7 separate regions of the Homo sapiens genome follow, and regions 2, 3, 4, 5, 6 and 7 are each linked to region 1. The links are contacts of gene promoters, found by promoter capture Hi-C in blood cells and fetal thymus (Javierre and others, 2016). All regions are on one chromosome and are shown on one strand. Each heading gives the region's core, a stretch centred on a gene start or on the middle of the fragment in contact. The rest is flanking DNA. Distances are from core to core; before and after follow the strand shown.

Region 1 (3,778 bases), core at 835-3,334:
AAAAGAGGTGCTGGGGGTTAGGAAGAGGGAGGGGAGCGGGAGGAAGTGCCTTGTGGCCGCTACTGTGATTCGGAGGGGTTCAAACTCATTTCGCTGACCTGGTTAATATAATCCCTGCCGAGTTGACGCTCGCCCTTGCAAGAAACGGCTCCGAGCCCGCAGTCGGGTTTCTCTTCCCCTGAGGCAGGTTCAAGGCTCCCGCCCCTCCCAGCCGCCTCCCCTCTGGGCTACCTGGAGCCTCAGGGAACCTGCGCGGCCCCGCCCCGCGGGGGCGGCCGAGACCTCGGGGCGCGGAGCCGCTGCCGCGCCTCCTCCCAGCACCCCTGCCCGACTCCCTCCTCCTGCTGCCAGTTTCAGCTCTCGAAAAAAAAAAAAAAAAAAAAAACAGATGACCCCGGTAGCTGTCCTGTGAAGTCCTAAAGGCGAAAAGTGGAGCCCTCGAGGGGCAGCACACCGTCCTGCGCGGCCAGGCTCCGGAGTAGGCATAGGGAGCCCGGAGCTCCCCCAAGTCGCCCTCTCGTCCCCAGAGCCCAACCAAGCCCCGGCGCTGCTCCCCGCCCAGCCCAGCCCGCGGGTGCTGCTGCAGGGTCTCCACCCACGCTCTTTGCAACTTCCCAGCGCCGCGCGGGGACCAGCGCCCGCAGGCTCAACAACAAACCAGTAGGAGAAAATCAAACAATCTAAGGAAAGGCGAATGGATTTGCTTTGCCTCCATGGACTTCGCCTTAGAACTCCTTCGCGAGGGTCTGTCCGGTCACCGCGCCTCGGCCGGGGCGACCTAAGGCGGCTGAAGGAGGGTGCGAGAAGGCGCGGCGACCTCAGCCGCATCCACGTGTGCGCGCCGCGCAGGGACCTTTCGCCTGGGGGCAGAGCCCGCGGGGATCGCGTCCCGGTTGCGCGGCAGCGGCCTTGGGTGCTGCCGGCCTCTGTCCCCTTGAGCCGAGTGGCGACTGCGACGGCTGCCGAGCTAGCCCTGGCACCCGCCGCTCGCAGGGAGCCCCGGCGTGTGCTGCTGGGAAAGTCCAGAGGCCGGTGGAGACTGGGGAACGAGCAACTGACAGTTCGGACGAGGATTTCCCTCCTCCTCCTCCTCTCCCTCTTCCCATCTGTCCGGCCAAAAATGTGAAGGGACTGCACCCATCTTCCCGGCGAGCCTCCCTAAGTGCAGTGACATGTGCGACGGCGGCGCGTGTGGGTGCGCGTGCAATGTTTGCAGTGGAAGTAAAAGCCTTTCAGAGAAAAATGATTCGAACCTCCAAAACCAGGTCTTAAGACAATTTGCAAAAGTAGAGACCCCTTTATCCCCCTAAAATCTGCTTTTCAGCCGCCTGTCAGCTGACACTGGTCCTCGCCTCCATAAAGAATGAATGAAATTTAAATGAACTACCTGCAGCTACTAAACAATCCAGCATTTTCCCTGTATCTGCCATATGCTCTGCACTTCCAAGTCCAAACATATCTCAATGCATCCAGCAATTACGCTGCGGATCCCTCGCCGACACCCGCGGCATCAAGCCAGGCACCTGGTGGGCTCCCCGGGGCTGGTGGGCACCGCTCTGCCCTCGGCTGGAACGTGCTTTCTTTTTCCCCCTAAAGAAAAATGTATCCCCATGCAACTTGCAAAATGAGCCGCAGGGCGTGCTTCCCAACGTCCGGATACATTTCCCGCAAAGACTCTTCCATTCATCAGTCTCTGGAGCGGCTTCTGCTGCCGAGGCAGGGGCTCCAGGTCCTCGGAGGGTCTGACAGCCCCTCAGATGATCCCGGAACGAATTCCCACCTGCTCCCGGGAGCCTGGCGCCCCGCGCGCCCCCGCGCGCCCCCGCCCTCGGCCGCCCGCCCGGCTCCCCGTTACCTGTGCCGGGGTCTTCGGGCCATGGCGCGGCGGGCGCGGGGCTCCGCCGAGAGCCGCGGGGACCGCACCGGGCTGCCGCCTCCCGCTGCCCGCCGCCTGCCTGCGTCCCTCCCCGGCTGCGCAGCGGCGCTCCGCACCGCTGGGGCGAAGTTTCTCAGGAGAAAGAGGAGGAGGAGGTCACGGAGGAGGAGGAGAAGGAGGAGGAGGAAACAGGTTGATATTAAAGTGTAAACTCTGTAAACAGAGATGCCATCAAACAAAGAGCTTTGGACACTCCCCCTCCCGCCAAATCTGGCGCCCCTGCAGTGCGCACGCGCCCTGCCCGCCGCCTCCGCGGTCGCCCTGGCTGCCGCCCGCGGGGCTGCCGGGCTGGCCGGGTCGCCGCTCCCATTCGGCGCTCGCGCCGCCGCGGTGCGCCTAGCGCGCCGCGAGGCCCGGGAGGCGCGCGGGCAGGGAGCCCGGGGCCAGGGAGGGGTGGCCGGGGGCCGCGACGGCGCCTTTTCCTGAGCAAACCCCGCTCCCGGGTCGCGGCGGCGCCGACCCGCGCCCAGTCCCGCCGCCTCCCCTCCTCCCTGGCTGCCGCACCGCGGTCGCCCGGCTCCGCGTGCTCCCGGGCAGCGGGACCAGAGCTCCTCCAGCTCCCACTCACTGTCGCGGGGGCGGCAAGCGGTGGGGGGAAATTCCCGCACAGAAGATTGGATTTTCGTCAAGGTTTACAACTGTGCCCTCTGGAGACGGGGAAATTAGGAGTTGGAGGAGTAGGGGATGTGAGCATATGTATTCATAGGCTGTTTGGCTAGGGTTTTTTTTCCTTCTTCTTAAATAAATAACATCTCTAATTTAACTTGTTAGTGACAAAGGACGCTTCAATACAAGTGGGCGGCAACCATCACCGCTCACTAATGGAGCGCCCCAGCGGAGCTTTCACTCCCCTCCCGGATCCTGCAGCCGCCACCGTCGTATTGTCACATGTCCTTCACTCTCACCCCAGCACACACCCGGGCCCCACCCACCCCGCCCCGCCCGGCCCAGGCGGTGCCCACCGCACACCTTTGCTCCCCTCCCTGCACAGAGCGCGCACCCTGGATTGCACACCTGCAAAAAAAAAAAAAAAAAAAAAAAAAAAAAAAAAATACACGGGGGTCCAGACAGCCCGCCCCTAGCAGAACTCAGGAAACCCCACGTTTGCATGCATGGTTTTAGAAGTAAAACAGTTTGTGATTTTGGAGGTCGGTATCCCTGCTTAGTGTCATTTGAGGGCTCTATTTTACGAGATAAAAGTCAGCAAAGGCTTTCGTGTTGTTTAATGAGGGTCTCCAGAAGTAAAGGAAGAAGATAAGTGCTGAATTTATAAGGATTGATGACTGGGGGGATTTTAGGGGAGTTTTAGTTTTACTTCCGTTTATAGATTAGAACCATTGGGGATTTTTTTTTCATTCTCTGTACACACTAATGTATTTTTCCTTTAATCTTTTAGGAGTTTGAGACTTCTGCTGACTGGGTTTGTGGGTGTCCCATGTGCCCCAGCAGTTCAAACTTAGCTCAGAAAGCATTTTTTCTTACTAAAAAAGCATGTTCTTACTAAAATGAGTCATAATTTTATTAAACGGTGAAGCATGCGAGGTTTCAAGACTATCTGGTGTTTTAGACTTTCTTTAAAATTGTTATATAGTTTAAATCTTTATCAAGTGTTAGTTGCTAGTAAGGTTTTAACATTCCTTTCCTCCTGAGAAGAAAATAACACTGAAACAAAATTATTGTGAGATATTTCGGATCACAATTACAAAGGACAAGGCAAATTAATACTTTTAAAGCCAATATTTATTTCTAGATTCTATAATAATTTTCTTTCTTCACATCAAAAATAAACAAAATCTTTTAAAAATATCTAGAATAAACATCTAGAAACCACCCCTAAAGAAA
Region 2 (3,778 bases), core at 392-2,891, 250 kb before region 1:
CAGCCCAAAATGTGAGTAGTTCTGAGGCTGAAATGTAGTTAGTTGCTTTTATTTTCACAATTAAAAAAAAGAAACTTCTACCTTCAACAATGATATTGATTGATACTGATATTATCACTATGATACTGTTACAGCATTAGTATAATATGATATAACTACAGGAGAGGGCTTTTGATTTATATGTCCTTGTTTTTTTGTTTATTTCCAAATAATCGCAAATGTAGGGAAATATCCTTCCTGAAAAAGGTGGAAGCAGTGTTCTGGGAAAATCAACATGGACTTCTAGTGCACTTTTGTTTGATGTTAGAGATGATAATAATACTTACCTGGCACAAAGTGTGTGCTGAAATGGTGTTTACTATTTTTTCGTGAGTGAAAAAATATGGAAGGCTATGTACCATATTTAGCAGATGGTTTAATAATATGTTTTATCTAATTTTTTTTCAGAGATCAAATATTCCTTGTATTATTTTAAAAATTCATCAGAAGAATATATGAGTATAAAAATTCTATCCATTAGTTTAGTAACCAGCTCAAATGCTACTTCCATAAAGTAGTCTCTCTTGCTCTATAGCTAGAATTAATTTCTCTTGTCCAAGTTTGAAAAGAACTCTTCTGTTTTTCTTTTGCAGTATGTTCTACATCCACCTTCTATTTTACGTTGACATGTTTCTCCTCTCTTGCTAAATTATAAACTCCCTGGGCTCTTGGGACTAGCTCTCCTTTATTCTGCATCCATTATATTATAGAATGTCTCCCATATGGCAGATTCTCAAAAAATGTTTGTTGAATGGAAATTAAGTATTTAAGAGAAAAGATTTTATACCACCAGTCATTTACATGATTAAGACAGTTACATTTGTAAAATCTTTTTTGCTTGTAGATTAGTAGCAAGGAAGTTTGTAGGAGCAGCAAATTATCGGGAGAAGATTCATAGTACTTTGACTCCATGTGGGACTTTTCTGTTTGCTGGAAGTGAGGATGGTATAGTGTATGTTTGGAACCCAGAAACAGGTGAATGTTTATTGAACTTTAAAAATCATTTGGGGAGGTACAGGGGTTTGAAGAAGTGTGAAAATTCTACCATTTTATGGAATAATTTTCAAGGAAATTCTGATTTTGGGTTTTCAATTATGTTTTTTAAGATTAGAAAGCCTTTAAAGGAACTCAGCTACAGTCTAAACTTGTATTAAATTTTGTTCTCTATTGCTTTAATATCTTTATGGATTTAGAATTTCACATTATAATTCAAGGTTTGTTCTTTCATGGCCTATAATGAGACATTGCTGATCTTAGAAAAGCGTTTAATGGAGGCTAACACAAAGTACAAAATGTTACAAGCTGAATTTGGAATATGATTAGGTAGACAAATTGTTAAACATCTATATTTTCATTAGTAACGGAAACATACCTGTGAAAGTTTTGATGTCTGAAACTTAAATAGCAAGTTGCCTGAAATACTGCAGTTCAGTTTTTTTCCAATAAACAATTACATTGGGAAGCTCACTTGTGCCTCACCTTTGCTTTTCAAAAGAAAAGCTAAAGCTACATGAATGTTTTTAATAAGAAATTGAGAGAGTTTCATAAAACTAACTTTAAAATTTCTTTAATGAACAGTATTTGATTTTTTCCTTGTTTTTTTTTTATTCTTTCTGTTAGGCATTTTGACTAGTCAGGTAACTTAGGTTTTTGTTTGATTGTTTGTTTCCTGTACCGTGTTTTGATGCTTTAGCATCAATTCAGTAGCAACAAGTCTCGCCTTCAATAAATGAATCTAGATTCTTTGCTTTTTGACTCCTGACTGATTTTCCTGGATTCCACAGATCTCTACTTTAGACATCTTTTAGGCCATAGTCATAGGTATCTTTCAAGCAAATGGGTACCTCAAACAGCATCTGGGAAAAAAAAAATGGAAAAGTTAATCCTTCACCAAAGCTCACCCAACTAGAGTTTCTTTAGTTTTAGAGTCCTGTAATTTCTCCTGTAGTTCTACCCAGAGTTCTCTGTCATTTGGAGTTTGCTTAGCTCTGTCCAATCTCCAATCTTAGAGTCATATACCTCTCTACTTCCGTCTGTGCCCTTTGTCTTTATTTTGTGCCTTGAAAACCTCATTGAAGAGGTAGAAAGTAGAAGGAGGAGGGTCAGTGGAATGTAAAATAAAGATAATTTAATACATTGTTACTCAAACATTTTTAAATATTTGAGGTTTTCACATAAATAATGTGAGCATCATTGCTATAAATATTTTCTAATAAATGGCAGAATAATCTTGTGAGAAGATTTATCGATACAGATATGCTCTGATATACATTTTTGAATCTCTCTTTTTATTTAGGAGAACAAGTAGCCATGTATTCTGACTTGCCATTCAAGTCACCCATTCGAGACATTTCTTATCATCCATTTGAAAATATGGTTGCATTCTGTGCATTTGGGCAAAATGAGCCAATTCTTCTGTATATTTACGATTTCCATGGTAAGTCTACCACTTGATAAGTAAAGAATTTTTAGAGTAACCTTTACATTTAGACTAAACCAGGAATCTGTCTGGAATTCAAATGTTGACAAAAGTACACATAATAATTGTGCCCTTATGTTGGAATCACAGAAAGCTAGCCACAAGTTTCTTTGTAAATCAATTTAAGTAAATAGAATTCACCTAAAAATTATTTGGAATATGTTAACTAAATTTAAAAGGTAAATAAAACTTAGGGAATACAGATCTTTGATGTTTTCAGTTGACTGTTGAGTTAATATTTTATCCTGTGTTGTTACTAAAGCACATAGTTTTAATAAATTGTAGTTTTGAGAGTTTCTTAACATAAAAAGTAGGGGGAAAATCACATCAGTGAAAACATCACCTGGAATTAGAAATCTAATGTCTTTCGTGTCCGCAATTACACTATTCTATCATTCTGAGAAATAATAAGGAAATAAAAAGTGTGGATACATTATTTTTCAGGGACAGTATGGTATTCTAAGAATTCTTTGGATATATGCTGGTTTTCATATATTTCTTTAATTTCTATCCTGAAATTAGGATTCCACTCTTCTATATTATACTATTAGTGCTGTCATTCTCAAAATTGCATTTCTATTTTCTTCATATAGTATTGTACAAAAATGAAAAGTCTTTGTTAGTTTCTTTGATTTGCTTATGGAAAGTTAAGTGTATTAAGTTAATATAGATTGAATTGATTAATGGTTGTGATAAATACTAAGTAATTAGGCAATTAAGTTAGAAATCTGAAGTTCTTGATCACAGTGTGGATTATATTATGCCTTCCAGGGTAAATTATGCTAGAAAATAATGTGTAAAGTCAAAATGTAATCTTATTTTAAAGAATTTTATAGAGAAGAAATCATTTCTGCAATGCATACTCAGATTTATAGAACACTGTTAGTAATGGTAGAATTGCCAAGCAACACAGTACCATTTACTATTACAAGCAGACATTAGCAAAGATAAACACTGCCTGATTATAGGAAAAAATAGATGGATTCCTCAAATCATTCAATGTCCAAATCTGGTGTCTAGTTTCACCATGTATCCTGAAACAGTTCTCTCTTTGTACCCACTCTAAATCTTCACATAAATGAAGAGTTATACCAAAGTACTTTATATTTGGAACTGTTATACAGGAAATAGGCAGCACAGTTATTTCCTCAGACTCTTAAGAGGTTTTACAGTAGTCTTCATTCAATTTCTAATTTGCTTTTTATGCCTTTGAAATTTTCACTACACATACACATTAAAGTTGCACTCTATCTTTTCTTA
Region 3 (3,778 bases), core at 435-2,934, 230 kb after region 1:
CGTATTTCTCTCATTCTGTTTCCAGCTGACCTGACCGTGGGCAGCACCAGAAAAAGCCTGAGACTACCTTCTGTCTCCAGTCCCTGTCAGCGACTCTCCAGCGACAGGCAACGGCGCCAGCTCCAGACTCCAGCTGCTCTGGGCCTCCCAGAATCAGCCACACCATGCTTGTCAGAAGTCTCAGCAAGAATTTTGGAGAATATCTAGAGACCAATAAAGATGGAAGCAGAGAGGGCCTAAGGAGGTGCACGGCCAGCAAGTGCCCTCATGTGATCAATGAATTTTAGAATATTGGTACCTAACCTTCAACTGAATTATAACTATAAATCATAATTATAAAAGTAATATAGGCTTGCCATAAAATATCCAAGCAGTTTAAAACGGCTTCCTGTCAACCATGTAAATAGCCAAAGAAACTATGCTGTATATATTATTCACTAGTTTTATTTTTTCACTTAACAATGCATCCTTCTAATGTCTAAGTAGTATTCCCTGTTAAGAATATAACAATTATACTCTAATATTCTCCAATTGATGGACTTTAGGTTGTTTTGATTTTTAAATTATGATAAAAAAGGATGTCCTGTGACTTATGTACTTGTTCATGAGCACGTAATTCTGTAGGAGAGATTCCTAGAAGAGAAATTGACCAGACCCTGACAAATTGCCCCAAGCAGTGTTCTGTGAACCCTCCCGCCTATGGACTAGGGATGATTCTCCACATCCTCACAGAGTAGATGTTCTCAATCTTTAAAAATGCTCTCCAGTATGATTGGCAAATCAGGCCACCTCTGTATTTCACATTCCTTGCTTAACAACAAGGCTGAACATTGTTAATATATTCATTAGCCAATTGTGTTCCTTTTCCTATGGATTGCTTTTTTGTATCTTTGCTTATCTTTTCTGTTGGGGTGCTCATTTCTCTTACCAATTTGTAGAAATTCTCAGCTACATCAGGGATCTGAAGCCCTTGCTATATGTGTCACACATGTTTTTGGCTTGTCTTTATCTCCATGGCACATCTAGGAAGATGTGAGCAGCCACTGTGGCCCCGGTTTTGGGATGGAGAGACAGCTCTTCCAAGAGAGGGCAGCCAAGGTAAAGAAACACAGATGAGCCACGGAAAGAGGGCATCTGTCTTCAGTTACCTCTGCAGGGTAAGCAGTGATGCATTGAGGAAAAAGTATATGATTTGGAGATTAAAGGGCTACAGTTCATCCCCTGCTAACTATGTGACCTTGGAAAAATGGTCTAACCTCTCCAAGGCTCAGTTTCTTCTATAAAAGAGAGGAAGTAATGGTTACTTCATATAGGATTGTTGTGTGGAATAAACGAGTAAATTCATGTAAAGGACTTGCTTTGGGGCCTGGCATCCAATCAGTGTTTGAGCAATGAACAGTTTACGGTGTGAACCCAATAAAATCACATGCACAGATGCCTTCTGATGATTTAAAGGGCTATGAACACATAAGTAAGTAGCTGTTACTTTTACACACAATTATCCATGTCAGGTAATGTACTAGAAGTCTGTGAAACATTCAGCCACTCTCTTAGTTCTGAGTTTGGAGACTGGAATGCTCTCTGAGAGCGTCAGGTGCCCTCCCACATTCACTGATTGGTAAAGGGGAAGATGGGGGCTGGGAAGGGGGAGGCTCACTCAGGAGTCCAGACAGTGGTGGGGACAACCTGAGTGCTCAGTCGTAAAGAGGAAAGGCAGAATTTTTCCTTGCTATGGCTGGAACAAACGCACTTTTGATGCTGGAAAACTTCATAGATGGAAAATTTTTACCTTGTAGCTCATATATAGATTCTTACGACCCATCAACAGGGGAAGTGTATTGCAGAGTGCCAAATAGTGGAAAAGACGAGGTGAGTATATGCACTTAAAGAAGACTGAAATGTGTTTAATATGTTGGCCAATTATGGGTAACAGTTTTCTAAAAGCAGAGGGAGTTGGGGGAAGATGTAGGATTGTTAAACATGATAGAAGGAAGATTCTAGTTCTCAGAAGATGTACCTTGTAACTGGACTGTATGATACCTAGAACAAATCTCTTCCTATATGCAGAAAGTAAGTCATTTTTCTAGCCAACCTAACACAGCCCTGTGTGCAGTTTTTTTTTGCAATTCTCAAACATTTCCTAATCAGTGTCTAGTACAAAGTATTATTTGTAAGAGCTATCACTTTGTTAAATATTCCCTTTTCTCCACCACGCACTGCTTAAATTTACCACTATATCCATGGAATTAAAAAAAAAGTATAGCTTTACTAAAATAAACAAACAAGCAAAAAACTGTGGGCTTTGTTTTAGATTGTCTTCTCATAATTTGTCATGTCTTCAAAATACCTAGTAAAATAAAATCAATCATTTGAATGATGAAACTCAAAATCAAATTCCCATATATTTTTGGAGTTAGATTTAACAGCGTCTTTTTTCTTATCCAAAGTGTTTAATGGCATATGCATTACATTTTTTTGGTGATGTAGAATTAATTTTACTTGGAGAATTTTGTAAAATATTTGAGATATATTTGATTAGCTATCAATTATTGCACTGAGAATGTAAATATATCTGAAGTGGTAAATGTAGCTGATGTATATATAGTCATCTAATGCCTTATGAATTATAATTTATTCTTTTTAAGGCACAAATAACTAGATTATTTAAAATATAGTCTTCCTATAAAAATATATATTCCATGCAAAGTTTTTTTTTAAGAACATTGCTATTTTTTTTCTTTTTTGTTAATACTTCAAATCTGTCTTGCATTTAAAGTAAACCTTCAGACTTAGGGATTAATGTTTGCAAATGTTGGTTAATGCATTGGTTAAATTATAAACTGCAATTTTGTTTGCTTCAAATGACTTAACACAGCTCTGGGAAATCCAGCTTTGTGTTTTCCACTCTTCCTTGTTTGCCAAAGTGAAGTTAAAAATGACAAACATGCCAAATTCAGCTGAAATATTTCCTGCAGCTAATGGCTCATAACTTTTTAGAAAATAGAATGAGCTATGGATGCGCTAGCTAGTAGAGTAATAGATATGTTCAGTTTCTCAGCAATCCAACTTCCAAATATCCTATCTGATCCCATAAGTCATAGTTTTTTCCGGCTTGAAAAATATGGTTACCATACAAACTGCATGTCCAATTTCCAAAACATCACTCAGGAAAATGTTGCTGGTGCTGCTAACAGTGGCTCCCGTTTATTCAACTTTTGCTTTGTGCTTTGCAGTCATTAAGCCCTTTTTTAACAAAAAATTAAAAAATTGATACATAATAATTGTACATCTTTATGGGCATATGTGACATTTTGATACATGCATACAATGTGTCATGATCAAATCAGGGTAATTAGGATCTCCATCACATTAAACATTTATCATTTCTTGGTGTTGGGAACATTCCAAATCTTTTCTTCTAACTATTGTGAAATATACAATAAATTATTGTTAACTATTGTCACTCTACTAGAACTTATTCCTTTTAACCATATTTTTGTATTAATTAGCCAACCTCTATCCTCTCCTCTACCCTTCCCAGCCTCTGGTAACCATAATTGTACTCTCTACCTCCATGAGATCAACTTTTTTAAGCTTCCACATATGAGTGAGAACATGTAATATTTGTATTTTTGTGCCTTGCTTACTTCACTTAACGTAATATCCTCCAGCTCAAATCGTGTTGGTGCAAATGACAGGATTTTGTTCCTTTTTATGGCTGAATAATATTCCATTGTGTATATATACCATATTTTCTTTATCCATTCAGCTGTTGATG
Region 4 (3,778 bases), core at 397-2,896, 220 kb before region 1:
GACTTAAGCAGTTCTCCTGCCTCAGCCTCCTGGGTAGCTGAGACCACAGGTGTGCACTGCCACGCCCAGCTAATTTTTTATTTTTTTGTAGAGATGAGGTCTCACTGTGTTGCCCAGGCTGGTCTTGAACTCTTGGACTCAAGTGATCCTCCTGCCTCAGCCTCCCAAATTGCTGGGATTATAAGCATTAGTCGTTGGGCCTGGCCTGAAGGTAGAATTTGGAAGAGCTTTAAGGATAACCCTAAGGGGACTGAGGGATGAATCTTGAACAGAATGCTCCTCTTCCTCTAACCCTAGAAGTAAAGACATAAGGATAGGTGGGAGAGGTCCATTCTTTCATAAGTTTGGAAATGAGAAGTTCAGGGGTTCAAGACCAAATTTTCTCTGTGAAGCAAGGCAGTGAACTAAGAGAGAAAAGGAGGTAAAGGTTTTGAGAAAACCAAGATGCATTGAGGTAAATTGCTTTACCCTAAAGAATATTGCTGGATAATTGGTTTGAGCCAGGACTAGATCTTAATTTTGAAATTGACATGAAAGTGTCATATCAGTAATCTGTGAACCACCAGTCCTTGGTACCTATCAGAGGGTCAAAAATCACGATTAAATATAACCAAAAAACTTTATAGTGACTGATTCAAATTTGAATACTGGTTTTAGCTAATGTAGTAGTAATGAACTGGTTTGGGGGTAAGATTTTTCTGGTATCTTATTGCTGTAGAAATTTTTCTTTAACAGTTACAGTGTTGTCTTCCAAATCCTTCACTTCTCTGTCCTGGCTTGTAAAGAAAACATCTGAGGACTGAGGGGTCATATTTGAATTGCTCTTTATAATACCATAGACTACTCATTGCTTAGACTTTACTAAGCTAGAAATCACAAGAGCATAAGCTACTCTTAAAATTTATATTATGAGAATGTAAAAGATACCTGACTTCAAATATCTTGAACCTCACTTTGGCTCAAGTTTTCTGTTTAACTTTTTCTTTAATACTGATATTTTAATTTTTACAACAGATACATGATTTGCAAAAAAAAAAAAAAAAAAAAAACATCCTGGGTATTATTGGTTTCTTTTTTTCTAATGCCACCAGAACTGCCATCAGATTAAAATATTATCTGCATTATTATTCATATTAGTGGAAAAATATGACAGCTGTCTGGGAGAGAGATGAATTTGTGAACTTTTAAGTATACAGACAGCATTAACATTCTTTCGGTTATAATTTAAAACCAACTTGAGATATGATATCATCACAGCTTGAAACTTCATAAACAATTCTTCAGGTGAATGTAGCGTGTTATCTAAAATTAGCTAAAAGGGTAGACTTGTAAGTATACATGGAAATGAGTACTATATATCTCCCAAAGGTTTTAAATTTTAACTAATCACTAAAAGAGAAACTAATTGTCAGCTTGCTTAATATTGTGCATTCAATTTCATGTTCAGAGCAGCAAGTTTTTTAACATGAAAATTAACCCCCGTCTAGAGAATTAGTATTTGCATATTTTGCTTGTCTGCTTATACCCTAAAAGAGTAGGCAAAACAGTTTTATGATTAACTTGGCAGAAGTTCCAGATGATTTTTTTTCTTTATTATGAATTTCATTAAATTTTTATGCTTTTAGTTTTCTCCAATATGGAGGTATTAAACTGACTTTGGCAGACTGTGGTTTTTGCATGAAGCAAACAGAAAAGGGTGTTGTGAAAAGAGGGTAGATTGGTGTAGGGTAGACTATCTTAACCAACCTTTCTGTTGTTGTAAAATTATTAAGCAATTCTTTTCCGCAGCACATATTTCAAAAATAGATATTGCTTCACTCTATTTAATGGTTATTATTATTTTTCTTCCTCTAAATGGAATAATAAATATGTACGAGCTTGCTTTGAAAATGATTTGAGTTCTAATTTCAAAACAAATATCTAATAATAACAGTAATAATTAACAGTTACCCCAAACTTTAGAAATTATCTGCTCTGTTACGTTGCTGCTCTCATCACTTTATGGACATTTGAATAGTCTGTAAAAAACTATGTCAAGAAAGATCAGAATTATAAAAATGTTTAGGAAGAACATATAATTATAGATTACAGGTTTTTTAAAAAAAAATTTTGTTGTAAAAGAATGACAAGTCTTTCTGTTTGAACAGAGGCATTTAAGTATCCTATTTTAACTTTCCAGGTATTTTTTGTTTTTAACACAAATTTCTGAAGAAGAAGACTATAAATGGCTATTGTGTGTATCTATAGATATATCTATATCTATAGATATGGATATATGTAGGTGTGTGTGTGTGCAAAGATGTGTGTGTATATAGATATATCTTCATTTCTCCAGCATACACCTGTTTGTTTGCACCAGATTTTTAAATGCATTACTTGATTTTAAGATAAAAATTTTCAGGAAGTAAAACTGAGAAATGATTCCAAAAAGAAGTGAATTAAATAGTTAAGTGATAAATATGTTCTTTTCCATTTGAAAGCACAGAACTCTGAAAAATTGGCTACATCATCATATGACATCATAAATACCTAATTACCCTTACTTCTAGTGATGTTAATAATAACTAATATAACACCTTATTTGTATACTACTTTATGGTTTGCCCTTGCCAAGATATTCTATTTAATCTATTTCTTATTTAATGTTCATTAGTGCTTTATGGTTAACATATGAATAGCACTTTATGATACCCGTTCATCATTATTGCTTTCCTGGCACATTCGCATTGAAGTATAGATATTATTTTTCTTATCTCCATTTAAAGATGGAAAGTGAAGCTCAAAGATATCAAATGAGTTTGTTGTTTTAGGTATTGTATCACTATAACTGGTCAGTTTTGATCTGTATTTAATGGATTTTGATAGAATTTTTAAAGCTGGGTGATATTTTAGGACTGATGTGGTATTTGACCCCCCCAACTACTTTGGAAAATACTTTTATTTTTTATTGAGATGACATAATAGTTTAGTTACTTTAAAACCATATTAACATATGGTCTTAATTGACTTTTTCACTGAATTTGCTAACTCTGCTCTAAGAGAAAAACCTAAACTAAGATATACTGTTTATTATCACTGTTTAAAAGCAAAAAATAGAAAAAAAAATTTACAAACATGTAAATAATGAATCAGATAAAGGGCATGTAACAAGAGCCCAGTATTGTCTTATACAGAACATCAAAAGGAAAATTTTAAATGCTTGCACAGTAGAAGTCCTCTGTATGGTTTTCATTATTTAACAAAAAAATGGGAAAGGGGCTGTTTTAATATAGTAATATTTATATGCCATAAATTATCATTTTGTTTATTTACAGATTACATTTTTGAAGTGAATTAGGAATCAGACTGTCAATTTCTCCAAAATAGATCACATTTTATTGTGCTTTTTGAAAGTAATGAAAAAGATTAAATGATTGATTTGTTAATAATGAAAAAAAGATAGATTTTTTTTCTGAAACGAATTCTGATTTACAAGATGAATTTGCCTATAAACATTTCAAGCTTTTTCAGTGAACTATTTATTTTCCTACAAGAGCTATAGTTAAAATGTTGTGTTTATTATGCATTTCATTTCTGTGAGGCTAGTGTGCACTCAGATAATCATACTAGGTTTTGTATGTTATAGAACATTGTATTTACTTACAGAAATTTTCCTTCTTATTTTAATGATATTTTTAAACAGTATCCTGAGTAAGGTGTTTTGATGCAATGGATACTATTTCACATGGCAAGCTAGGTTACAGCTGTGTTATCTGTGTCACCATGATGTATATAAACA
Region 5 (3,778 bases), core at 370-2,869, 210 kb after region 1:
AATATTCAGAATTCATGTATTGATCATCAAGTAACAACAAGTTAATTGTTGTGAGCGAATGGAACTCATTCACAGAAAGCAGTATGTCCTATGAGGCAAAGGAGGGGTTGGTTACTGCATATTTTTACTCATGCAATAATAATATTTGCCAATGGAGAGGTAGAGGGATGAAGAGGTCAGAAGTGACTTTGAATAGTAATACTGTCTCCCTGACTACTGTAGTTTCTTAAAAATAAGCATGAATTGCAAGTTTTTCACTGTTGCTTTAGGAGATTCTGCCAGCATATATTGATTCAGAAATACCAGGATCAAATTTGTTTCAGAAAAATATGGCCATATTTTGTCAGTCTACTCCCTATGGGAGAAAAACTTGAAAAAAAATTTTTTAAGCAAACAAAGGTTTCCTAAGCTATTAAAATTTTACTGTTTAGGGACTAATGCCATAATACTACATAAATATATTTAAATTTTCCCTATTTTGTATGGGAAACTCTATTTCAGTAGCTTTTGGGTACAAGTAATTTTTTCCTTTGTTTTTTATTTATTTGTCAATTTTCTTTTTACTTCTTTTTACCAACTAGTGGTTTTTGATTACATGGATAAATTGTATAATGGTGAAATCTAAGATTTTAGTGCACCCATCACCCAAGTAGTGTATATTGTACCCAAGATGTAGTTTCTTATCCCTCACCCCCTTCAAGCCCTACCCGCTACTGAGTCTCCAGTGTCCCCTATACTGTTCTGTATGTCTTTGTGTACCCATAGCTTAGCTCCCACTTTTAAGTAAGCACATATGCTATTTGGTTTTTCATTCCTAAGTTACTTCTCTTAGAATAATATCCTCCAGCCCTATCCAAGTTGCTGCAAAACACACTATCTCTACCCTTGTATGGCTGAGTAGTATTCCATGGTGTACATATACGTTTTCTCTATCCACTCATTGGTTGATGGGCACTTAGGTTGGTTCCACATTCTTGCAACTGTAAATTGTGCTGTGATAAACATGCATTCAAGTATCTTTTTGATATAATGACTTATTTTCCTTTGGGTAGATACCCAGTAGTGAGACTGCTGGATCAACTGGTAGATCTACTTTTCGTTCTTTGAGAAATCTCTGTTCTGTTTTCCTCAGAGGCTATACCAATCCACATTCCTACCAGCAGTGCACAAGTGTTCCCTTCTTCATCGCATACAGGGCAACATCTATTGTTTTTTGACTTTTTAATAATGGCCATTCTGGCTGGAGTAAGGTGGTATCCCATTGTGGCTTTGATTTGTACTTCCTCGATGATTAATGATGTTGAGCATTTTTTCATATGTTTCTTGGCCATTTGTATGTCTTCTTTTGAGAAGTGTCTGCTCATGTCACTTGCCCATTTCCTGATGGAATTGTTTGCTTTTTTTTCTTGCTGATTTGAGTCTTTTGTAGATTCTGGATACTAGTCCTGTCAGATGCATAGTTTGCAAATATTTTCTTCCATTCTGTGGATTGTCTGTTTACTATGTTCAGGATTTCTTTGCTGTGCACTAGCTCTTTAGCTTAATTAGGTCTTATCTATTTATTTTTATTTCCGTTGAATCTGCTTTGGGGGTCTTAGTCATAAATTCTTACCTAGGCCAATGTCCAGAAGAACCTCTCCCAGGTTTTCCTCCAGAATTTCCATGGTTTCAGTTCCTAGATCCAAGTCCCTCTTGAGTTAACTCTTGCATGTAGTGAGAGATAGGAATCCAGTTTTCGTTCTTCCATATGTAGCTATCCAGCACCATCCATTTTCCCAGCACCATCCATTGAATAGGGTGTCCTTTCCCCAATTTATGTTTTTGCATGCCTTGTCAAAGATTAGTTGGTTGTTAAGTATTTGGCTTTGTTTCTGGGTTCTCTATTCTGTTGCATTGGTCTATGAATCTACCTTTATACTAGTACCATGCTGTTTTGGTTATTATAGCCTGTAGTATAATTTGAAGTAGGGTAGTGTGATGCCTCCAGATTTGCTCTTTTTGCTTAGGACTGCTTTGGCTAATTGGGCTCTTTTTGGGTTCCATATGAATTTTAGGATTGTTTTTTCTAATCTTGTGGAAAATGATGTTAGTATTTTGACAGGATTTGCACCAAATCTGTAGATTGGGCAATGTGGTCTCTTCCATGATATTGATTCTTCCAATTCATGAGCATGGGATGTATCTCTGTTCATTTGTCATCCATGATTTCTTTCAGCTGTGTTTTGTAGTTCTCCTTGTAAGAGATCTTTCACCTCCTTGGCTAAGTACATTCCTAGGTGGGTTGGTTGGTTGGTTTTGTAGCTATTGTAAAAGGGATTAAGTTCTTGTTCTTGATTTGATTCTCAGCTTGATCGTTGTTGGTGCTACTGATTTGTGTACATTGATTTTGTAACCTGAGACTTTACTGAATTCATTTATCAAATCTAGGTGTTGTTTGGGAGGAATCTTTAGGATTTTTTAGGTATGTAATTATATCATTGGCAAACAGAGATAGTTTGACTTACTCTTTTCCAATTTGGATGCCCTTGATTTCTTTCTCTTGCCTGATTGCTCTGGCTAGGACTTCCAGTACTGTGTTTAATAGAAGTGATGAGAGTGAACATCCTTGTCTTGTTTCAGTTCTTAGGGGGAATGCTTTCAACTTTTCCCCATTTAGTATGATGTTGGCTGTGGGTTTGTCATATGTGGCTTTTATTATTTTGAGGTATGTTTCCTCTTTGCCTAGTTTATTGAACATTTTATCATTAAGGGATCCTGGATTTTATCTAGTGCTTTTTCCGCATCTATTGAGATGATCATCTGTTTTTTTTTTGCTTTTAATTGTTTCAGTGGTGAATCACATTTATTGACTTGCATATGCTGAACCATTCCTGCATCCTTGGGAGGAAACCTCCTTGATCATGATAAAATGTCTTTTGGATATGCTGTTGGACTTGGTTTGCTAGTATTTTGTTAGGGATTTTTGCATCTGTGTTTATCAGGGGTGTTGGTCTGTAGCTTTCTTTTTTTGTTATGTCCTTTCCTGGTTTTGTTATCAGGGTGATGATACTGGCTTTATGGAATGAGTTAGAGAAGATTCTCTCTTTCTCAGTCTTTTAATAGTTTCAGTAGGATTGGTATTATTTCTTTGAATGTCTGGTAGAATTTGGCTATGGATCCATCTGGCCCTGAGCTTTTTTGTTGTTGTTGAAAATTTTTTTTTTATTACTGATTTATTCTCACTGCTTGATATGTGTCTGTTTAGGATTTCTTATTTCTTCCTGATTCAAGCTTGGAGGGTTGTATGTTTCCAGGATTTATCCGTTTCCTCTAGATTTTCTAGTGTGTGCACGGAGGTGTTTATAGTAGTCTCAAATGATCTTTTGTATATCTGTGGTGTCGTTTATAATGTCTCCATTTTCCTTTTGAATTGAGCTTATTTGAATCTTCTCTCTTACTCTATATTTTTTAAGAGGAAATAATAGAAGAATGGATTAGACTTTAAGTGAATTTATATTTGATTTTTATTATTTTATATATATATATATGTGACATAGAACTTACCATTTTTAAGTGTACAATCAGTGGCATTAAGTACCTCCACAATGTTGTGCAGTCATCACTACTGTTCATTTTTTTTTTTTTCTTGAGATGGAGTCTCGCTTTGGCATCCAGGCTAGAGTGCAGTGGCACAATCTTGGCTCACTGAAACCTCTGCCTCCTGGGCTCAAGCAGTTCTCCTGCCTCAGCCTCCCGGAACTGCCTCAGCCTCTCGAGTAGCTGGGACTACAGGTGTGCA
Region 6 (3,778 bases), core at 954-3,453, 200 kb before region 1:
GGAACCAAGCAAGCAGCTCTTCATGTTTCCTCCTCTGGGGGAAAAATGAAATAGCACTTGTATCACAAAAATAACAGTTTTTTTTATTTCCTTTGTAAATCCTTATGTCTCAGAGTAACTTTTTAAAAAATTAAATCTGTGACAAGAAATTTTTAGTTTTTAAACATTTTAGTTTGTGTCTACTGAAAGCTCTGGAAATTCAGAAGGAGGCTATCTAATTAAGCTCTCATTTACCCTTAGGTCATAATCTGCTAAAACTATACTCAGAATAGCCCTAAGGTTTCCCTTAGAGAAGTGAAGTGCATACTTTTGCATTTTGTGGTTTAGTCAGTTTGGTCTGGATAGTGAACAGTCTGTGATATAATAGAATTTACTGGTAATGTTTTCTGGAAATGAATATCCATCACTTATTGAAGATGTTAACTAACAATGGAAATTAGGTTTAGGAACCAGACCTTCTGGTAATGATAGAGACTTAGAGATAATGTTGATTTGTATTTTCTAGAATTTTAAATGCACATTTTTAAGAAGCCTTTTCCTTGAATGAAAAGTGAATGAAAATGTAAAGAATCACTGTGTTGTTCTTAGTCAGCAACTTGCCTACCAGTGTGAGAGCAAAGTTACTGAGAAATACGGAAAGTGACAAATGACTATATGCGTGACTGGTCATTTTTTTTTAAACAATGTAAGAGATTTTTGTGTTATAAATGGTTAATAAGTAAAAAGTGGAACATTGTTCTTATTTCAGACAATTTACTTTTTTCCTCAACTTTCTCTAAGAAAACATTCAACTGTAATTCATAAGGAATAAAAGTTAAGAATGATTTCTAACTGGTTTCCATCCTTTTTTTGAGAAGAACCAGAAATAACACATTTTAATAGAAGTACTCTAATGAAAACTGTTATTCAGTTTAAAAAATAAAAACATTTTTAATATTTTCAAAAGTTAATTGAAGCATTTCATCAAGCATTGTTTATGGAGAGCCTACTATGTAACAGAGACTCTGCCAAGCACTGCGAGAAATGGAAGATGAAAGCCCTCAGAGGCTTTCCAGTCTATCTGGGGAGTCCAGCAGGCAAAGAAATAGTTATAATATGATGGTGGTAAATTCAACAGGGCATGCGTATAAAACACTGTGGCAGCACAGAGGGGAGAGTAAGTCCGATTACATGTATCATCCTTATAAAGTGCACTTAGTTTTATGGCCTTGTTTAGAAATTTATCTTGCCCATGCAGTATACAACAGTATCATCTATTTTGGAGTTCTCTAAATGATAGCTTAGAACTCAGAATCTGGATTTCGTTGCTGGCCTTTTGTAAGGCTCATGTGTCACAAGTCATATAATGATCTTAGTATGCTTTCTTCAAATCTGCCTCCCAAGGATCTTACGGCATTCTGAGAATAAGTGAGTTTATGCTTAGTAGGACTCCAGTTTATTTCATATTAATGTCTATGTGGGTGTGTTTGTATTTCATATTAATGTCTATATGGGTGTTTGTATGTATATGTGTTATTGTGTATACTTGCCACTTTTTTTAAAAGGAATCAAGTCTTTTACATCTCATTGCTGTTAAATTTGTCTGAGAAATATAGGGCATGAACAGGTGTTTTGTTTTGGCCAACTTAGAATCAGTGAAGCTTGTTTTTTGTGGGAGTCCACTTTTCCTTTTTTTTTCCCTTCTTCAGTAGTGACATTATGAGGCATAATGTTATCTCAGTCTTTTTAGTCTGATTTTGAAGTGAAGATTTAATGAAGAGTTGAAAGTAAAACACTTTAAAAGCTAATGTAAAAGGCAGATATAAATGCACATATAACAGGCAAATTAATGTGCTTAATGTTCACTGAACTACTGCAGGGAAAAAATAACATAATAAGCATATTTTTAAAAATAACTTCTCTTTGCTTTGGATATGAAAATCTTTTTCTAAATCATCATGCTTATGTTCAAAGTTTAAATTTAAAAGTTTTCCCTAGAACTTAAAATGTCTCTTTTATGGAAAGACCTGGAAAAAATGGGTTCACACCATCTCACATTCTCAATACCATACCAATGTAATGGACCAAAAAATGTTTTCCACCATTAAATCCCTTCTTGTTTTAACTTTGTACTTTTTTTTTGGGGGGGGGGGGGTTATTTTACTTAAAAAGATGTTTAATTTGTACACATGCAGGTACTGGGAATGCAAGAGCATTTATACATTCAGTAAGTACCCAGTGCATACTTACAGTGTCCCAGGCACTTTTATACATGCTCTGAACGTATCAGTGAACAAAACTGGTAAAACTCCACATCTTTGTGTAGCTTACCTTCTAGTGGAGAATGACATTAAGCAAATGTAGTCTGGTTATCCCTCAGTATCTGGGTAGTTGGTTTTACGACCCTTTGTAGATAGCAAGGTCCTTGGATGCTCAAGTCCCCAATATAAAATGGACAGTATTTGGATATTGCCTGTGTACATCCTCCTATATACTTTAAATAATCTCTAGATTACTTATAATACCTAATACAATGTAAATGCTGTATAAATAGTTGTCCCGTATTGTATAGGGAATAATGACAAGAAAAAAGTCTATGTGTTCATTACAGATGCATTTCTTTTCTGAATAGTTTCAATCCATGGTTGGTTGAATGCGTGGATGCAGAACCCATGGATGCAGAGGGCTGTTAAATAAAAACATTATAACGACAAAGCAGGGAAGGGAGTTGCACCTGAGGAGTAGGGTTGGGTTGCTGTTTAAATGGAGTGGTCAAGGAAAGCTTCACAAAGTAGCTGAGAATTAAGCAAAATTCAGATGACGACAAAGAAGAAGAAAGAGAGGGAGGGAGGGAGGAAGGAAGGAAGGAAGGAGGGAGGAAGAGGGGAAGGGGAGGGAGGGAGAGGGTGAAGGGGAGGGAGGGAGGGAGAAGGGGAAGGAGGGAGGGAGTTGGGGGAGGGAGGGAGGAAGGAAGGAAGGAAAGGGAAGGGAGCTTGGAAAAAAGGAAGCTAGGAAGGAAGGAAGCTAGGAAGCTGTAAGTTGTTTGGGAGAATAGCATCCCCATCCAAGATCCTGAAACAGGAATGTACTTGGTATGCATTTTGAACAGCAAAGAGGTCAGTATAGCTAGATTGGAGGGAACAAGGAGGAGAGTAGAAAACAGTAAGTTCAGAGAGGTAGCAGCAGGCCCAGATTGTACAGAACCTTGTAGGAATGAAGTGCAGAACTCAGCCCCATCCCTAGCACTGCTAGTATTCACTGGAAACCTATTTTTAAATAGGTAGGTAGATGGGATTGCATAGTTTGATATTTGCTGTAAAAGGAATGAACAAAGTGTACTAGAGAATGCAGATGATATAGTAACAAATTCTGTGTTAAAGAAGACAATAAGGCCTCATAGAGAAGACAGTATGTGAACTAATTGTAAGATGAGAAGAATCATAAAAGGTGTTAGGGCATTACAGCTAGGAAGGCCAGTTAAAAGGTGATTTAATAATTGAGGTAGGAGAAGGGGGTTGAAGTAAGAGAGTGGAGATGTTAAATCATTAACGTGGAGGTCTAGAATGTGAGTGAAGATAGAGAAGTAGAATTTGAGGGTGCCAGAGGCTTCTAATTTAGGTGAATGAGTGGATAGCAATCCATAAATGAAAATAGGAGATACAGGAATATTGAGAGGAAGATAATGAATTGTATTTTAGATATATTAAGTTTGAAATGCCTACAAGATATTATGGCATTTCTGAAACACGATATCTAATAGCTTGCTCAATCATTTGAACCTCATTTATTAAATATCCTA
Region 7 (3,778 bases), core at 386-2,885, 190 kb after region 1:
AACATTCTACATCTGATCTCATGTGACAGGTCACACAAAATGACTGAAAATGTTGCATAAGATTCCCTTCAGGCTATGTGTATAATGTGTATATGAAACAAAGGAATTTTGTGTTTAGATGTGGGTCCCATCCCCAAGATACCTCATTTTGTATATGCAAATATTCCAAGTCCAAAAAAGTCTGTAATTTGAAAAGCTTCTAGTCCCAAGCATTTCACTAATCTGAATCTACATTTTTGTGGCTGAAAAAAGGCACTATGTTGGTCTCCAGGAAGAATTAAATAGGATACAAAGCAATCTGCTGTTCATCTATCTCTGTTTTTTAAAAATTAGGCATCTGCTTTGATATCTTATGTTTTCTAAATATGTAGCATATTAACCAGCCTTGCAAATTAAGTTTTATAAGCTCATTTCTATAATTAGTGAAGCATAAGTGTAGAACGTGAAGAAAATTACCTCTCGGTCGTGGTAATTTTGCATTTGTCTTTTCTCATATGCAGTATTTTCCCCCCATTTAGAGTTGTCCCCATGTATCCTTCTTCACAATTTACACTATTTCTTACAAAACAAATAAGATAATAGGGCATAACTATCATTTTTATTGAGCTCTTACTTTGTCCTCCCTTTTATGTTAAAACCATATGGATGCACTTCTATTATAGCAGAAATTCCAGCCCCGATTGATAATTTAATTATTCAAAAATAATAGTCTATAAAAACAATTTCCATTTTTACCTAAGAATGTAGATGGTCATGTAGACTATTATTAATTTACTCTATAGCACTATTTATATCGTACATTCTAACCATGTTATGTTTTGTTTAAGGGGAGTAACCATGGATGTTGGTATGACAAAGTTTGAAACCACAACCAAAGTTATTACATTAATGGATGCTCCAGGCCATAAGGACTTCATTCCAAATATGATTACAGGAGCAGCCCAGGTAACTGCTGTTTTCTTCACTATAGTGTGCTGATTGTACTTTACATAAAATTTTCTGATGCTGAGGTTACAATTCTAGGATTTTGACTTTTAAAATATTTTAAAATTAAAAATTTTAACCTTTATAAAGCTTGAACAAAAAGAGCAATATTGTATTTTTCATGATCTTTCTACCTGTACTTTGTAAAACCTTTTAAAATTTCTTACAAAGAAACAAAATGTATAAAAGCTATGAGTTTCTTTATCGTAAAAGTAATGGTAAAGGACTTGATGAGTATAGCTTCATATTTCCTTTATTGATAAGTTGGCCTGAGTATTTCAAAATCTGCCTTATGTCTTTCAATATATTCAAGTTCTATATCTTTTTAAAGAGCTTGTTTATGCAGAAATAATGAAGCTTGGGTATTTTCGCCCAGTGGTTTATTTACTTTCTTTATAATATTAAAAAAGCATTGCAATTTGTAAATTACATGATTCTTAATAAGAATACTGCAAAAAATCAAATATAATTTGCATTCATACATCCCTTAATGATAAGGAAATATTCTGAGAAGTGAGTTGTTAGGCAGTTTCATCATTTGTGAACATATTTGAGTTTACTTACACAAATCTGGATGGTAACATCTTTTATACACCTAGGCTACATGGAACCTATAGTTCCAAGGCAACAAACATGTATAACATATTACTGTATTGAATACTGTAAGCAGTTGTGGCACAGTGGTAAATATTTGTGTATCTAAACTGATCTAAGCATATCATAGAAAAGGTACAGTAAAAATAGGGCATAAAAGATAAAAAATGGTACACCTGTATAGGGCACTTACCATGAATGGAGCTCGCAGGACTGGAAGTTGCTCTGGGTGATTCAGTGAGTGAATGTGAAGGCCTAGGACACGACTGTATACTTTACAAACACTGTACACTCAGGGGACACTACATTTATTTAAAAATATGTTTTTCTTTAATAGTAAATTAAGCTTAGCTTACTGTAGCTTTTTTTACTTTATAAACATTTAAATTTTTTTTAACTTTCTGACTCTCTTATAATAACACTTAGCTTAAAGCACAAACGTTGTACAGCTGTACGAAAATATTTTCTTTCTGTATAGTCTTATTCCATAAGCTTTTTTTAATATGTATTTTTTACTTTAAACTTTTTTTGGTGAAAAACAAAGACACAAATACGCACATTAGCCTAGGCCTACACAGGATCAGGATCATCAGAAGTGAAAAATAGTAAGTACATAAACCACTATCATAATTATCATTATAAAGTACTATACATAATTGCATATGCTATATTCTTTTATACAATTGGCAGCGCAGTAGATTTGTTTATACCAGTATCATCACAGATACATGAGTAATGCATGGTGCTATGACATTATGGCGACTATGACATCACCAGGCAATGGGAGTTTTTCAGCTCCATTATAATCTTATGGGACCACCATCACGTATGCGGTCCATGGTTGACCAAAACGTCATTATGCTGTGCATCACCGTAACTTTAAATTATTAAAGCAATGAAAATAGCACTGCATATATAGGACATTGATTTCTTTCATAATGGATGATTACTGGAAAACATGAAGAGTTAAAATAACTTGACTCTGTTACATGGCAAAAACATGACTTCAAGCAATTACCCGTTTTCTGGGATCTACTCATTAAAATATTAATTTTTTGAGACAGAGTCTCACTCTGTAGCCCAGGCTGGAGTGCAGTGGCACAGTCACCAGTCACTGCATCCACAACTTCCCGGGCTCAAGGGATCCTCTCACCCCAGCCTCCTGAGTAGCTGGGACTGCAGGCATGTGCCACCATGCCTGGCTAATTTTTTAGTTTTTTGTAAAGATGGGATCTCACTGTATTGCCCATGCTGGTCTTGAAATCCTGGGCTCAAGCAATCCCCACCTCAGCCTCCCAAAGTGTTGGGATTACAGGCATGAGCCACTGTGCCCAGCCAAAAAGAGAATTTTAACATGAACATTTGTTAACCAAAAAGGATATTGTATGAATACATTATAATATATTTGAAGATAAGAATTTTTTGATACTATTTTAGAAAGTTGACATGTAATTTTAGAATATTAATTCAAGATTCATGGACTGAATGTGATAAAAGATTGAAATAAAGTAATTATCCCTATTAATTGAGTACCTAATGTGGACCAGATACTGTATTAGGTATTACATGCATTCAGTTTAATATAATCTTTATAACAACTCTAGGAAGTGTATATTATCACCATTTTAAATTAGTATACAGTCATTCCTCCATGTGCATGGATTTTGCATTTACGGATTCAGTCAACTGTGGATTGGAATATTTGGGGGGGACAAATTCCACAAAGTTCCAAAAAGCAAAATTTGAATTTGCCACACACTGAGTACTGTGTTGAATCCATGCAAAGGAAGTGATGTGTAGGCATTGTATTAGGTATTACACATAATCTAGAGATAATTTAAAGTGTGTAAGAGGAAGTGTGTAGGCTATATGCAAAGGCTACCCTGTTTTGTATAAGGGACTTAAGCATTCATAGATTTTGGTATCCATGGGTGTTGGGAGGTCTGGAACCAATCCCTCACTGATACTTAGGGAAACTGTACTTCTCATTGCATTTACCAAAGAATACAATATAGTTTTGATTTCTCCTTATATGTGTATATGTGTGTGTGTGTGTGTGTATGTCTGTGAGTCTTTTTCTTTTTTTTTTTCATTGATTACTTATTGAATACTGGCTGTGTAGCAAGCACTGGGGTAGCAGTGTGGGAATGCAATGCCTACAAAGCACTGATAGTTTAATGGGCGAGACAAACACCAGAAG

What was found. Contacts are between HindIII fragments. The CHiCAGO score rates a contact against its expected background, and 5 or more counts as called.
Region 2: a fragment that was not itself captured here is called in contact with the fragment with the promoter of MYB in region 1 in 8 of 17 cell types (megakaryocytes, erythroblasts, fetal thymus and 5 more); the score reaches 21.3 in megakaryocytes.
Region 3: a contact is called between the fragment with the promoter of ALDH8A1 here and the fragment with the promoter of MYB in region 1, in 13 of 17 cell types (total CD4 T cells, activated CD4 T cells, naive CD4 T cells and 10 more). The highest score is 18.2, in total CD4 T cells.
Region 4: a contact is called between a fragment that was not itself captured here and the fragment with the promoter of MYB in region 1, in 2 of 17 cell types (erythroblasts and megakaryocytes). The highest score is 5.4, in erythroblasts.
Region 5: a fragment that was not itself captured here is called in contact with the fragment with the promoter of MYB in region 1 in 5 of 17 cell types (activated CD4 T cells, total CD8 T cells, naive CD4 T cells and 2 more); the score reaches 7.9 in activated CD4 T cells.
Region 6: a fragment that was not itself captured here is called in contact with the fragment with the promoter of MYB in region 1 in 1 of 17 cell types (megakaryocytes); the score reaches 5.8 in megakaryocytes.
Region 7: a fragment that was not itself captured here is called in contact with the fragment with the promoter of MYB in region 1 in 6 of 17 cell types (activated CD4 T cells, total CD8 T cells, fetal thymus and 3 more); the score reaches 5.8 in activated CD4 T cells.

The regions. Positions count from the first base shown.
Region 1 is chr6:135,179,614-135,183,391 of GRCh38, reverse strand. MYB (MYB proto-oncogene, transcription factor) reads right to left here and starts at 2,084. Exons shown (of 16, transcript NM_001130173.2): 1 at 1,856-2,084. The coding sequence starts at 1,878. RefSeq lists silencers at 837-916, 1,966-2,015, 2,076-2,295, 2,366-2,415, 2,856-2,965 and 2 more. The HindIII fragment of the contact is 5,797 bases long and covers 1-3,778 here.
Region 2 is chr6:135,425,865-135,429,642 of GRCh38, reverse strand. It overlaps AHI1 (Abelson helper integration site 1), which reads left to right. Exons shown (of 29, transcript NM_001134831.2): 19 at 884-1,014; 20 at 2,336-2,476. Among named protein-coding and RNA genes, the nearest start is that of AHI1, 70 kb to the left of the region's middle. RefSeq lists a silencer at 3,506-3,706. The HindIII fragment of the contact is 4,672 bases long and covers 1-3,778 here.
Region 3 is chr6:134,948,007-134,951,784 of GRCh38, reverse strand. It overlaps ALDH8A1 (aldehyde dehydrogenase 8 family member A1), which reads left to right and starts at 1,684. Exons shown (of 7, transcript NM_022568.4): 1 at 1,684-1,869. The coding sequence starts at 1,732. The HindIII fragment of the contact is 9,755 bases long and covers 1-3,596 here.
Region 4 is chr6:135,395,330-135,399,107 of GRCh38, reverse strand. All of the region lies in intron 22 of AHI1 (Abelson helper integration site 1), which reads left to right. Among named protein-coding and RNA genes, the nearest start is that of AHI1, 100 kb to the left of the region's middle. The HindIII fragment of the contact is 3,714 bases long and covers 1-3,503 here.
Region 5 is chr6:134,973,685-134,977,462 of GRCh38, reverse strand. All of the region lies in intron 15 of HBS1L (HBS1 like translational GTPase), which reads left to right. Among named protein-coding and RNA genes, the nearest start is that of MIR3662, 3.9 kb to the left of the region's middle. The HindIII fragment of the contact is 3,307 bases long and covers 1-3,272 here.
Region 6 is chr6:135,379,088-135,382,865 of GRCh38, reverse strand. All of the region lies in intron 23 of AHI1 (Abelson helper integration site 1), which reads left to right. Among named protein-coding and RNA genes, the nearest start is that of AHI1, 120 kb to the left of the region's middle. The HindIII fragment of the contact is 1,121 bases long and covers 1,643-2,763 here.
Region 7 is chr6:134,990,925-134,994,702 of GRCh38, reverse strand. It overlaps HBS1L (HBS1 like translational GTPase), which reads left to right. Exons shown (of 18, transcript NM_006620.4): 8 at 828-945. Among named protein-coding and RNA genes, the nearest start is that of MIR3662, 13 kb to the right of the region's middle. The HindIII fragment of the contact is 583 bases long and covers 1,344-1,926 here.